Regions from separate parts of the Homo sapiens genome. Here region 1 is linked to region 2. The links are contacts of gene promoters, found by promoter capture Hi-C in blood cells and fetal thymus (Javierre and others, 2016). All regions are on one chromosome and are shown on one strand. Each heading gives the region's core, a stretch centred on a gene start or on the middle of the fragment in contact. The rest is flanking DNA. Distances are from core to core; before and after follow the strand shown. Region 1 overlaps CDADC1 (cytidine and dCMP deaminase domain containing 1). Region 2 holds the start of EBPL (EBP like).

Evidence for each region. Contacts are between HindIII fragments. The CHiCAGO score rates a contact against its expected background, and 5 or more counts as called.
Region 1: a contact is called between a fragment that was not itself captured here and the fragment with the promoter of EBPL in region 2, in 1 of 17 cell types (neutrophils). The highest score is 5.2, in neutrophils.

The regions. Positions count from the first base shown.
Region 1 is chr13:49,284,054-49,291,172 of GRCh38, forward strand. CDADC1 (cytidine and dCMP deaminase domain containing 1) reads left to right here. Exons shown (of 10, transcript NM_030911.4): 9 at 2,169-2,229. Among named protein-coding and RNA genes, the nearest start is that of CDADC1, 40 kb to the left of the region's middle. The HindIII fragment of the contact is 3,835 bases long and covers 2,727-6,561 here.
Region 2 is chr13:49,689,665-49,696,511 of GRCh38, forward strand. EBPL (EBP like) reads right to left here and starts at 1,822. Exons shown (of 4, transcript NM_032565.5): 1 at 1,590-1,822. The coding sequence starts at 1,760. RefSeq lists an enhancer at 1,117-2,114 and silencers at 1,578-1,717, 1,748-1,947. The HindIII fragment of the contact is 12,052 bases long and covers 1-5,028 here.

The DNA of each region.
Region 1 (7,119 bases), core at 3,394-5,893, 400 kb before region 2:
GATAAGTTACCATAGACCTTGAGATAAGTAGTTCTATTCTGTGGTGTTGTCACAAACCAGGCTAGGACTGGGCAACACTGTTTCCAAGAATAGATTTTATCAATCTATATCCATGTCCACATACTCAGTTCTTTGTTTTCTCTTTAATATGTGTGGATTTTTCTCTATTAGGTTATATTACTTATTTTTATTATGAAAGTAGTATATGCTCATTGTAGAAGACTAGGAAAATAAAAAAGAACGTGTATTATCTCACAACTCATAGATACCACAATTAACATGTTGCTGTATTTTCTGCCACTAAAAGTTCTTTAAAAAATATTTTAAATAATTTAACACAATATTCCAACCCATAGGCCTAACTTATTTAACCATTCCCATGTTGTTGGACACCTGGATTGTTTCTAAGTTTTTACAGTTATAAGAAGCCTTTTTATGAATGTCCTTAAACATAAATTCAGGATTACTTGTTTTTACTTTGTCTGCCCAAATTAATAGGTTTTAGTGGTTTGACGTCTTTCAAAAAATGCCTAATTTTAAACATTTTTTTGGTAATTTCTCATGTAGCTTCCTACCCTTTCTAAGTCTTCTCTCTTTCTTGGTGCTAGCCTAAACCATCCCATTCGTTTAAATAACCAACCATTTCTAGATGTCCTCCCTTTCCAGGGACTTTTAATACATGGTAAAATGTTTGTCCTGTATCTCATCCCCCCTCAAGGCTCGTGATGTTAACTAGTTAATCTGATGAGTGAACTGATGCTTATGGAAGAGGCTCCCGGGTAATCCATATTTGTGTCCTGAGATGGTGCCCTAGCAGGGCCTTTTGGTTAAGTCATTAGTGATTCTGATAGAGATTCTATCCAGCTGAGAAAAGAAGGGCTGTGCTATAAGATACCGATTACTCTCCATTTTTATTTTCTCCTGCCCCAATATTCTATGTAATATCTGTGAATCTTCAGGCTTCCCTATTTATTCCTGAATGGTTGAGATGAAATACAGTAATCAGAGGAGATATATGATATGATATAAAATGATATGATGCAGGTAATAGTTTATGATATAACAACATTAAAAGGCAAGGTAATCTTGGTCATATTTTCTTTTTCTTTTCTTTTTTTTTTCTTTTTTCTTTTTTTTTTTTGTGAGACAGAGTCTTGCTCTGTCTTCCAGGCTGGAGTGCAGTGGTGCAATCTCGGCTCACTGCAAGCTCCACCTCCCGGGTTCTCGCCATTCTCCTGCCTCAGCCTCTCGAGTAGCTGGGACTACAGGCACCGGCCACCACGCCCAGCTAATTTTTTGTATTTTTAGTAGAGACGGGGTTTCACCTTGTTAGCCAGGATGGTCTCTATCTGACCTCGTGATCCACCCACCTCAGCCTCCCAAAGTGCTGGGATTACAGGCGTGAGCCACTGTGCATGGCCTATCTTGGTCATATTTTCATTCTTTAATACCTAGGCCTTTTCTAGCTATTATAAGATTCTCTAGGACCTGGAGATAGAATACAATGCGATGTTAATTCCATAGTACTGGGCATGGGTTCTAATTCTATTGCCTCCTGTAGTTAGGGTGTAACCTGAGACAAGTCACTCCAATCCTCTGGTCTTCCACTTACTTCCAATTAAAATGAATGTAAAGAATCTTCAACTTCTCTAAGAGTATTGATTCGGATCCCAGAAGTTATATCATTCAGGATCACTCAGTGTGGCGTTATTAGGGCTTTGTTAATTTGAACATGCTAACTTCTTTTTCTTCTATTTTTTTAATTTTTTTTTTTTTTCAAGATGGAGGCTTGCTCTGTCACCCAGGCTGAAGTGCAGTGGCACCATCTCAGCTCACTGCAACCTCCACCTCCCAGGTTCAAGCAATTCTCTTACCTCAGCCTCCCAAGTAGCTAGGACTACAGGCGCGTGCCACCACGCCCAGCTAATTTTTGTATTTTTATTAAAGACGGAGTTTCACCATGTTGGCCAGGTTGGTCTCAAACTCCTTAACTCAGGTAATCCACCTACCTTGGCCTCCCAAAGTGCTGGGATTACAGGTGTGACCCACTATGCCCAGCCATTTTTCTTCCATTTTTAAGAAGTTGTTTTGATATTTAAAATCAATGTGCTGGAATGCTATGTATTAAATCCTCTTTAAACAAGTAAAATGTTTGTGCACTCTTACAGTGGCAGCTGAATCCATCAGGAGCTTATGGTCTTGAACAAAATGAGCCTGAAAGGAGAGAAAGTAAGTATTTATGTATTGAGGTGAACTTTGTTGCTGAGGAGAAAGGATATACAGTGAATTTTAATGATCAGGTGATGAAAATTGTGTTAATAGATGGAGCATATTATTTTTGAAGGTTAGATTTTTGCCATTCAATTTGTTCATAAATATTTGTGGGTCTACCATATGCTAGGTGCTATGGAAAGTGCCGATTAATAATTACTCCTATAGAATCTACAGGTTAATACAAATAATTATGCACAAATTGACTTTATAAATTAAATGCATATGAAACAGTAAACAGCAATGCTCTTCTATAACAAAACAAAAGCTTATTGGGGAGTGAGAAAGGAAAAATATGTATAATTAGTACAGATGGATTGGGACCAAATGATGAGGATATATACATTCTTCTAGAGTAAACCCACATTTGCCCAGATTGGAAATGTTCTGGTAACTTGAATAATCTGATTAACTAAGAATCATCACAGCTACCATAATGAATTACTAGTCTTTAAAGCTTTATTATTCGTATACTACTACAGATATTTTGAATGTAATATAATCTTTGAGAAGTCTTACAATTCTTTAGGCACATAATTTTAGATATGAGTGCTATATAATATTATTCTAAAATAGTAACTATAGGCCAGGTGTGGTCACTCACGCCTATAATCCCAGCACTTTGGGAGGCCAAGGCAGGGGGATCACTTGAAATCAGGAGTTCGAGATCAGCTTGGCCAACATGGTGAAACCTCGTCTCCACTAAAAATACAAAAAATAGCCAGGTATCATGGCACATGCCTGTAATCCCAGCTACTTGGGAGTTTGAGGCAGGAGAATCACTTGAATCCAGGAGGTGGAGTTTGCAGTGAGCCGAGATAGCGCCACTGCACTCCAGCCTGGGCGACAGGGCAAAACTCTGTCTCTAAAAATAAAAATAAAACAGTAACTATATTATCGAATTATTTGGATTTGAAGTAAATGGAAGTTTTCTGTAAGTTTTCTTGATAATAACAATTTTTTAACCTTGAAAAATCAAGAAGTATAAAGGTCTTAGAATAATTTTTCTGTGAATATATTGATTTTCAGTGTTCTGAATTAGCTTTATTTGATTCAAATAGAAAATGTATTGTTTGCAATTTGGAAAAAAGTACATATCCACTGCATCTTTCTTTTTAAAAATTTATTAGCAAAAAAGGCTGTATCTATCTATCTATCTATCTATCTATCTATCTATCTATCTATCGGTCTGTCTCTCTGTCTATCTATACATCTGATTAAATAATGTACACTCAATGACAGTGTTTGAAGGGGCCAATGAATAATTTCCTATGTTAGGGAAAGGATACAAAAAGCACGAATCATAAAAAGGTTAATTTATCTATGCTACAATGAAGAATATCTGTTCATTAAAATATATTACTAGGCCAGGTGCAGTGGCTCACACCTGTAATCCCAGTGCTTTGGAAGGCTGAGGTGGGTGAATTGCTTGAGCCCAGGAGTTTGAAACCAGGCTAGGCAACATGGCAAAACCCTCTCTCTACAAAAAATACAAAAATTAGCCAATTGTGGTGGCACATGCCTGTGGTCCCAGCTACTCAGGAGGCTGAGGTGGAAGGATCTCTTAAGCATGAAGAGGTTGAGGCTGCAGTGATCCATGCTTGTACCACTCTACTCCAACCTTGGCAACAGAGTGAGACCCTGCCTTAAAAAAAAAAAAAAAAAAGATATCACTACAAGAGTGCAAAGGCAAGCCATGGAATATGAGAAGATACTTGCCACTTATAATCAACAAAGGGCTTGTATCTAGGATTTATTATTCCTAGATTACTAAGGAAAAGGAAGACATGCTGTGGTTAAAGCCCCAAGATTGGAAGGAGGGGACAAAAGGAAGGCTTCTGGTTTGCTGGCAATGTTTTATTTATTGACCCAGATGATGGTTACATATGTTTGCTTTGTGACAGTTCAACTGAACAGTTAAGTTTATGTTTATGCATTTTTGAACAAGTGTTTGATCTCAGTAAGCAATACCCCATTTCCTTTTTAATTATATGATAGTTTTACTGATATGTAATTCATCTATCATAAATTTGCTTCTTTAGTAGATTCACGAAGTTGTACAGGCATCACTACAACATAATTTCAGAACATTTTCATTATCTGAGAAAGAAGTCTCATGCCTATTTGCAGTCACTCCCCATTCTTCACTCCCCCTAGCCCTAGGCAACCACTCTTTCAGTTTTTATGGATTAGTCTATTCTGGCCATTTCATATAAATGGAATCATACAGTATGTAATTCCTTTCCAATTTTTGATTCAGTTGAGAAATAGACACCAGAATCAACAGATGAAAGTTACAACACCAGCTTTGTTGTTAGACTGGGGCTTGACTTTTGGGTAAATCAGTCTGTCTAACTCAGAGGGGGACTTGCTGCTGGATACTCTCTCAGTGCCAGTAGCAGGGACAAACAGAGAAGGAAGGCAGGCAGTGTGACTGACAACTCTCAAGTGCCCTTCCACTCCATGCAAATGGAACCCAGGTAACCCATAACAAGCATTCTTTTTAAAGAGTCATGGAGCTTTCAAGAAAATAAGAGAAATATTCTCCTAAGAACAAAATAGAGATAAGAAGGCATTTTGCTAGAATCTGAGGAGCAATAGTAAGCGAACACAATAGCCAGAGCTATCCTGGGGACAAATGTCCATATAAGCTGGGATCTGAGATCAGGTCTGGGTCTGCTGCAAGGTGAGTGAACTGAACTTAGTTCACCCAATCAACACATGAAAAGATGATTAAACTTATTAGTAGTCAGAGAAATGCAAATTAACATTGCACGGAAGTAGCTTTTTTTTTGCTTTTTTTTTTTTTTTTTTTTTTTTTTATGACGGAGTCTCACTCTGTCGCCCAGTCTGGAGTGCAGTGGCGTGATCCTGGCTCACTGCAACCTCCACCTCCCAGGTTCAAGAGATTCTCCTGCCTTAGCCTCCCAAGTATCTGGGATTACAGGCATGCACCACCATGCCCAGCTAATTTTGTATTTTTAGTAGAGACGAGGTTTCACCACGTTGGCTAGGCTAGTCTCAAACTCTGGACCTCAGGTGATCTGCCCGCCTTGGCCTCCGAAAGTGCTGGGATTACCGGCATGAGCCACCACGCCTGGCCTGAAATAGCATTTTTTATAAGCGTATGCCCTAGAGAAACTCTTGCATATTGTATAAGAGTCAGAGAGACAAAGAATTTGTTGCTATATTGTTTTTAAAAGCAAAAACTGGAAATAACACAAATGTTTGTTTTGGGTGGTTAGATAAAAATATTATGGTGTATTCCCACAATGGACTACCATATAGCAGTGAAAACAAATGAACTAGAGCTACATTCTTCAACATGGATGAATCTTAGAAATATAAATGTTGAATTTAACAAAGCAAACTACAGAATTATGATACCATTTCTGTATAAAGTTCAAAAAGACATACCATATATTGGTTAAATGTGGTAGGCCAGGCATGGTGCTCACACCTATAATCCCAGCATATTGGGAGACTGAAGCGGGCCAATTGCTTGAGCCCAGGAGTTCAAGACCAGCCTGGGCATCACAGCAAAACTCCATCTCTACAAAAGATACAAAAAATTAGTTTGGCATGGTGGCCTGTGCCTGTAGTCCCAGCTACCGCAGAGGCTGACATAGGAGGATCACCTGAGCCCAGGAGGTTGAGGATGCAGTGAGCTGAGATCACACCACTGCACTCCAGCCTGGGTAACAGACTGAGACAGACCCTGTCTCAAAAAATATATAAATAAATAAATAAAATATACTTTAATATATAGTATATACAGTAAAGTTATTGTTAAGAAGCAATCGATTGATAAACACAAAAATCAAGATAGGAGTTGCCTCTGAGTGGGGTGAAAGGGGATGGGACGAGAGAGGGAGCGCACGGGAATTGATAATGTTCTAGTTGTTGGATTCGGCAGTATGTTTTGTTTTTTTTCCATCTCCCCCCAACACACATAATGTAGTTTTATTCAGTTTTAAACAAACTGTAACTCTTTTGGGGCAGTAAGTTCATGAGTGTTCATTTTATTGTTAGGCTTTAGAACTCCCATCTGTATTATGTATGTATTATTATATATTACATAATACATTATATATAGAGAGAGAGAATGTTTCAAATATTACATGATATGATGAGAACAAGAAAGAGAGAGGGGTGGCTTTCCAGATCTACCTCTGGAAGGCAAGTCTGAGCCCTGGCCCAGGTGTCCTTAGGACAAGGAAACAGCAGGGCAGAACATACAGGCTCAGGGCAGGAAATCCCTCAAAAGATGGGAAGAAAGGGGCAGAAAGAAGCTTTTGCAGGTGATAGATATGTTCATTGTCTTGACTGTGGGGATAGTTTCATGAATGTGTACTTATGTCAGAAATCATGAAACTGGACTAAGCAAAATGGCTCCTTCCTGTGATCCCATCATTTTGGGAGGCTGAGGTGGGAGGATTGCTTGAGGCCAAGAGTTCAAGACCAGTTTGGGTAACAGACTGAGAACCCCATCTCTACAAATATTACAAATCAAAAAGTAAATTAAAAAAATTCATCAAGCTATACACTTTATGTTTAGTTTATTGCATACTTTAAACATGTATCATTTATTGTACAAATAAAGCTATTAAACACAAAAGCCAGGAAGAGGTTGAAGCCATACTCTTTTCCCAGCCTGCCCAGTCAGATAAGTCCGTCTTCCTTCCAGTCCCCAGATTCTCCCTACCCCACACACAGTCCCCTTCTCCCTTAGGAGGTACATTTTATTTCTTCCAGTCTAGTAATAGGACGTCCCCCCACCAAAAACATAAAACAAAAAGTTTTATGAATTACTTGCCGTACACTGTTGAGTGAATTCAGTTTTTGGTT
Region 2 (6,847 bases), core at 572-3,071:
ATATACATTCTGATATGCTATATACAGTTATACCCAGCCAATATGTTACACAGTTTTCTCTCACTGGGCCTAGCAACATTTTTGTTATGTTATACATTTTGTTATACATTTTTTCTAACCGGGCCTAGCAATCTGCTTTATCTCCCTTGTTCTGTGGGAAACCTTGTGTTCAAGTGATAGCTTAAAAATCAATTCTCGGCTGGTGGCGGTGGCGGTGGCTCACGCCTGTCATCCCAGCACTTTGGGAGGCCAAGGTGGGCAGATCATCTGATGTTAGGGGTTTGAGACCAGTCTGGCCAACATAGTGAAACCTCATCTCTACTAAAAACACAAAAATTAGCTGGGCGTGGTGACGGGCGCCCGTAATCCCAGCTACTCGGGAGGCTGAGGCAGGAGAATAGCTTTAACCCAAGGGGCGGAGGTTGCAGTGAGCCGAGATAGTGCCACTACACTCCAGCCTGGGCAACAGTGTTAGACTCTGTCTCAAGAACAACAACAAAAAAAAAGACAAAAAAAAAAAAAAAGAATTCTATAAATAAAGGAGTTGAGAGAAACATTCACTGTCCCTTATCTCTACATGTTGATTATCAGAATAAAAAGAATTCCAGCAACATCAGTCATGGGCACAAAGCCAACCCGTAAACATTTACAGAACTCGATGATTACCCAAAACTCGGCTTGCTTTCTCAATACTACTGACTTTGGCTTCACATTAGCCACAGGTGTGTCTAGAGTTAAACAAGGTCAACTTTACAAAAAAAAAAAAAAACAAACTGATACTTGGGCATAGTTTAAAAAAAACTTAAAAGTGTGTGTGTGTGTGTGCGTGCGCGTGTGTGGTGGGGGGCGGGGCATTTCAATATAAATGCCTTAAACACAACCTTCCTGGCTATTTTATAAAATGGGTTGAATCTCTAAGGACACATATTTCCTAAGACCTCGACTGATACACAGAGTGCAAACTTGGGAGCCAGACTAGACTGCCTCAGAATCATGCCAGCTGTGTGGCACTGGAAAGTCACCTAATTTTGCAGCGCCTACCTTCACCTCTGTAAAATGGGGAACAATAATAACTAATTTATGGATGCTGTAAAGATCTGAAATTTTAAACTCAGTAATGCGCCTGGCACACATTAGACACGGGTGTTTCGTTTGTCTTGGCAAAGGCTTCGGGTTTTGCGACAATAGCCTTGCTGCCTCCGGAGCAAGCATCTCTCCTTGCCCCCTCTGGGGCATTTAAAAATGACCTCAATTCTACTCTCAATTATGTCCAGTTCAACAGTTACGTGCAGGTTACAAAGCCGAGGAAGCTGAGGTATCTTCTAAACTAACATAGCACGTACAGAATTTTTTTAAAGTTTGGTGGAGGAATCGGCAGCACAAGGTAAGCTGCGCTCTGTTCACAGACCTGGGAATCAGAACTCCGGCCGCCGCGGCCTCCAGGCGCCTCTCAGCTAACAGACTTCCTGCAGCAGGGGGAGGGGCGGCCAGCTCGCTGCAAAAAGCCGCAGGACCCCCTCACCCCGCCTTGCCGCCCCCGCTCCCACTCTCTGGGATGGGGAGTGCAGGGTCTAGGCGATGGCACTTACCAGCGCGAAGTGCACCAGCGCGTCGTAGCAGAGCCAGATGAGCGCCCCGCGGTCCGCCGCCCCCTGCCCGCGGCCCAGGCGCAGGCCCAGGGCGCAGCCCGCCGCCAGCAGCGCGGCGCACAGCAGCAGCGAACCGCCAGCCTCGGCCCCCAGCTCCCACTCAGCGCCCATGCTTCAGGCTTCCGACGCCAACGGCCCAGGACCATGCGGCAGAGGAAAGCAGGGAGAGAAACGACGGGGCGGGGCTGGCCGGGAAGGGGCGGAGCCGGATGGCCAAGGAGGAGCGGAGCTGATTGGCCAAGGCGGTCCGGGGAGGGACGGGGCTCCCCGGCCGGGTCGGGGCCAGAGCGAGGATTCCGTGCCCGCCTCGCACCCTGGCCAGCCTGCTGAGTCCGGTGGTTTTGCCAGGTGCCGCCCATGGAGGTTCCGTAGAAGGAACGTGCTCACCAACTTGCGCAACCGCCTCGACCAAACCTGTTCCCAAACCGAGCCCAAAGGATTGGTAATAGGGCCACACCTTTTGATGTTGTTTCGCTTTTAACAAGGCTCAAACTTTAAGCCACAAAGTGAAGCCTAGGTAGTGGAAATTTTGCCAGTAGACCGGGGCAGAATTTTAGGGGCAAAAGGTTTTAATTAGGCTGCAGCAAGCCTTACCAGGGAGGCTGGGGGCCAAGGGAGTTTTCAGCCACCAGCCGGCTTAAAGCCTTTATGGCCTACTCTGACAATCTTTCCATTTCTTAAAAATCCAGAAAAGTAGAAGGGTGGGTGAGAGGAGCGGTAAGTCCTATTGGCTTGGCGATAGATGCGTTTAACCTGTGGCAGGCCAGGTTTCACTATCGCAGGCCTCCATCACAACTGCTTCAGCACTGAGTGGTTAAATTAAATATTAAAAGCTGAGGCCGGGCGCGGTGGCTCACGCCTGTAATCCCAGCACTTTTTGCCAAGGCGGGCGGATCACGAGGTCAGGAAATCGAGACCATCCTGGCTAACACGGCGAAACCACGTCTCTACTAAAAATACAAAAAATTAGCCGGGCGTGGTGACGGGCGCCTGTAGTCCCAGCTACTCCGGAGGCTGAGGCAGGAGAATGGCGTGAACCCGGGAGGCGGAGCTTGCAGTGAGCCGAGATCGCGCCACTGCACTCCAGCCTGGGCAACAGAGCGAGACTCCGTCTCAAAAAACAAAAAAAAAATTAAAAGCTGAAAGAGTCAGTGCCCATATACCAAAGTCTGGAATGTAACAAAAGCCCACCAAGAGTTTTGCCTAGGCCTTTCTTGGGCCTTGAAGCATGACAAGATAACTAAGGAATTTTTAACAGGACCCGTTTAGGATTAAACAAGTTTTATTGGGGGTCTGAAGAAACTCCCCAGGCCTCCAAAAACAAGTTTATTGGGAGTCTGGAGGAATTCCACAAGCCTCCATGATTTAGCAAGAGACAAAATAAGGGTAATCATCCCAGCACCCAGACCTATTTAGATTAAGTAAATTTACTGAGGCTCCAGAGGAAGGTCTTCAGGATTAGAAGTTGTTAATCACTTACGTCTTTAGATGAATGCACTCTTACACGTAGACATATAGCTTAGAAGGTATATACGCTCTGGAAAAACTTTGTAATTATGAGTTGGTCTGGCAATAATTTCCAGACCTTCTCCCTGTAACCGGTTGCAGAAATAAAAACTCTTCTTCCCCAGTTCATCTGCACCTCATTATTGGGCTGCCCAACCCCCAGTTTGGTCCGGGAACAAACCTACATTATTTAACATCACAACAACCCTATGAGGTCGGTGAAATAAGCCAGTCACAAAAACATACTTATGATTCCACTTACAGGAAATATCTAAAATAATCAATTTGCAGAAACAAAATAGAATGATGGTTACCAGGGGTGGGGCGGGGCGGGAGTGGGGGGGGGGCGCGGGGAAAAGTGGAGTGTTATTTATTCGGATAGTTTGATTTGCAAGATGATGTTCTGGAGATTGGTTGCACAACAACGTGAACATACTTTACTGAGCTGCACACTTAAAAATGGTTAAGATGGCAAATTTTATGTGTATTTTACAGTTATTAAAAAAAATGCTGGCACTGAACACAAGAAATTTTTCCCTTAGTCACTTCCTATACCATTTTTTATAGCAGTTAACACCAGATAGAATGATCCTTGTTTACACACTTATTGCTAATCTCCTGCCACTATAATGTAAGTCTTCAAGGCCAGGGGTTGTGGCTAGCTTTTTTATTGCTGTATCCCTGGCACCTATTACAGAGTTTGGCATATATTAGCTGCTCAGTTAAATAACTGGCGACTGAGTATGGTCAATCTAGCCACCTATGCTCTGGATCCTGTCCTGTAACTAACTTATCATCCTTTAGGGACCACTCGGCCCACCTCCCCTTCAGAGCAAAATAGAAACTTAATGAAAAAACTGATCAGATCCCCTGTCTTCATGTCTTGACCCTGCTCCTCAGTCCTTTCTACTCTGGTTTCTGCCTTATCACACTGATATAGCTCTCACTAAGGTGACTACTGGCCTCCACATCACTGAACCCCAAGAACAGTTCATTTTCTTAGTGTAGTTTACTTCTCAGCAGCATCCCAGCACTGAAATATTTTTCCTTTGGTTTTCTGAGAATACAGCCTCCTTAGCCATTCTGTTTCCTTTGCAAGTGCATCTTCCACTACAAATGCCTAGTGAATGCTGCAGCTCCACAACCCAGTCCTCGGCCCTGTTCTCACTCCAGACCCCAAATCCAGGCAGTCTCATCCTTACCCTCTGCTTTAATGACCAGCAAAACCTGCAGAGAACTCAAATCTCTAGCCTGGTCCTATTCTCTGGACTCCAGACCAGTATTTCCAACTGCCCTACTTGACAGTCACTTGGATGTCTCAATATAACCCAAACTGAGCTCATCACTTTCCACCCCAATGTCTGATTCTCCTTCCTATCTCATGTTACTTCCACTCATCAGTTACTACAACCCGGAAACCTAGAAATCATCCCCGATACTTCTCTCTCCCCAAACTTGGCATCTAAGGCATCACCAACTCCTCCTCAGCAGCCAAGTATTTCTTGATTCCATGCATTTCATGGACCTGTTCACCATCTCGTCTGTGCTTCACTCACTAATGTGACCAGCGACCTCTACATCACTAAATCCAAAGGACGTTTTCTGTCCTTAGCCTTACCAACTAGTGATCTTTATTAATCTATTATCCCTCTTGCTTAATGATGATCTTCATATAGAATACCAAAATCCTTTTTATGACTTACTAGACTGTGGGGTCTGGCCCCTCCCTATCTCTTTAGCCCTTTCCCATTCCCCTATTAATCCTCCTCTCCATTATAATCTTTCATCTAGCTATACTTGCTTTCTTTCACTTCCTCAAATACCCCATGGTGCTTCCCACAAGGCTTTGTACAGACTCTTCCCACTGCTGGAAAGCTTTTCCAGTCAATGTGCCCAATAAACTCCTGCCTTTTCACCACGATCAGTGAAATTTTGGCTGGCACTTTTTAAGGGCTCAACATTAGCCTGGTTATCACCTTTCTCAGTAGCCAATTTCCTCTAGTATGTGTATCATTGTATACCTCTTTTTTTCTAACATTTGTCAAAACTTGTCTTTTTTTTTATTCCTGTTATTTTTACAAGTATCCTGTGCCATAGCACAGTACCTGGCACGGGACAGAGTATTCAGTATTCGAATGTTTCTAAAGGCTTAGTCAGAATTCTTATTTATATAAGACTGAAGACATCGAAAGGATACATATGTAGAATGTGATCTCATGAGAAAAACTAGGCTGAAGTAAATATGAAATTTATTCTTATGTTTAGAGTTGAAAAGGGTAGATGCCCAACGATTTGGGTTAAAGAGAGCTGATGATAAAGAGGGTGTGACTTGATCACAAACCTAATTATGATGAAGCTGGTAAAATAACTGAAAGACTCCCCCCACATTAATAGAATCAAAAGTCCAGATAATGGAATGTTCCCATTCATTCCAAAGTACTCAGAAACCAGTCACACCACACTCCTTATTGTTGGAATCCTTGGAGTACATCACGCTGACAGGAACCAGGTCCAGCAATGACTTTATAATGAGAATGGATGAAATGCAAGGGGTGTTCGAGTAAAAGAAAGCTGATTTAAAAAATGGATGAGTCTCCTCTGCTATCTGGAAATAACAAAGTCTACTCCCAATCAAAAACAGTTAATTTACAATGATGGAAATTTAAGTTTCTTTCTCTTTTGAGACAGGGTCTCAACTCTGTGGCCCAGGCTGAAGTGCAGTGGCACGATCTCGGGTCCAGTGTATGGCAGCCTCAGCCTCCAAAGTAGCTGGGACTACAGGCATGTACCGCCAGGCCCAGCTATTTTATTTATTTATTTTTTTTGTAGAGATGAGGTCTCACTATATTGCCCAGGCTGGTGTCAAACTCCTGGGCTCAAGTGATCCACTGACCTGGGCCTCCCAAAGTGCTGGCATTACAGGTGTGGGCCACTGCACCCAGGTTAAGAAAGGATCTTGTAGCAAGCAAAGCTAGCCAATAAATACAAGCTCCCTCAAAATGAGTACCTTGTTTCTCAAGCTCTTCTAACTTACTCCTGCAGGAATGTTTCCATAAAATACCCTGCCTCAAAAATCAGATTTTATGTTTAAAATATGTAAAATGTATACTTTATAACACTTTGGCTTGTATTACCAATAAAACTTTTACTTACCACCTAGTAAAGTTGCTGTCCCACGAAAGTGTTCCTTATCTTATGGTTTCTCACACTATTTGGCACAAGGCCCCATGCATCTTTGGGTACCACAGTTTAAGGGAATTCCTCAAGAAGGTGTATGGCAATTTGCTAGGGTAGGGAAGGGGGATGCTGTAGAAGAAATTCCCTGCAGAGAATACTTTCTTTATGGCATGGCTCGGCCATAGTTTCTGTTTTTAATAATTTAATAGATGATTGTAAGTTTTCTGATGAGGCCAATCTCTCAACAATGCTTCAAGTGATCTTCAAACTATGCTATGATTTTCTAGTACAACTCCAGTTTTCCCTAGATAACTTAAAGATTTTCAACTACAAGTGTTTGAAAAACACTGCCATAGGGTGTTGAGATTTGGGCAATTAACACATTTGATTGTTTTACAACCCTGTTTTTTAGCCACAGGATAAATTTAAGAGGTAACTAGTTGCTCCATATTTCTATTTCTTTATCCCAAGTCCCTTGAAATAGATGTTCAGTACTACCTGGAGTTTCCTACAGA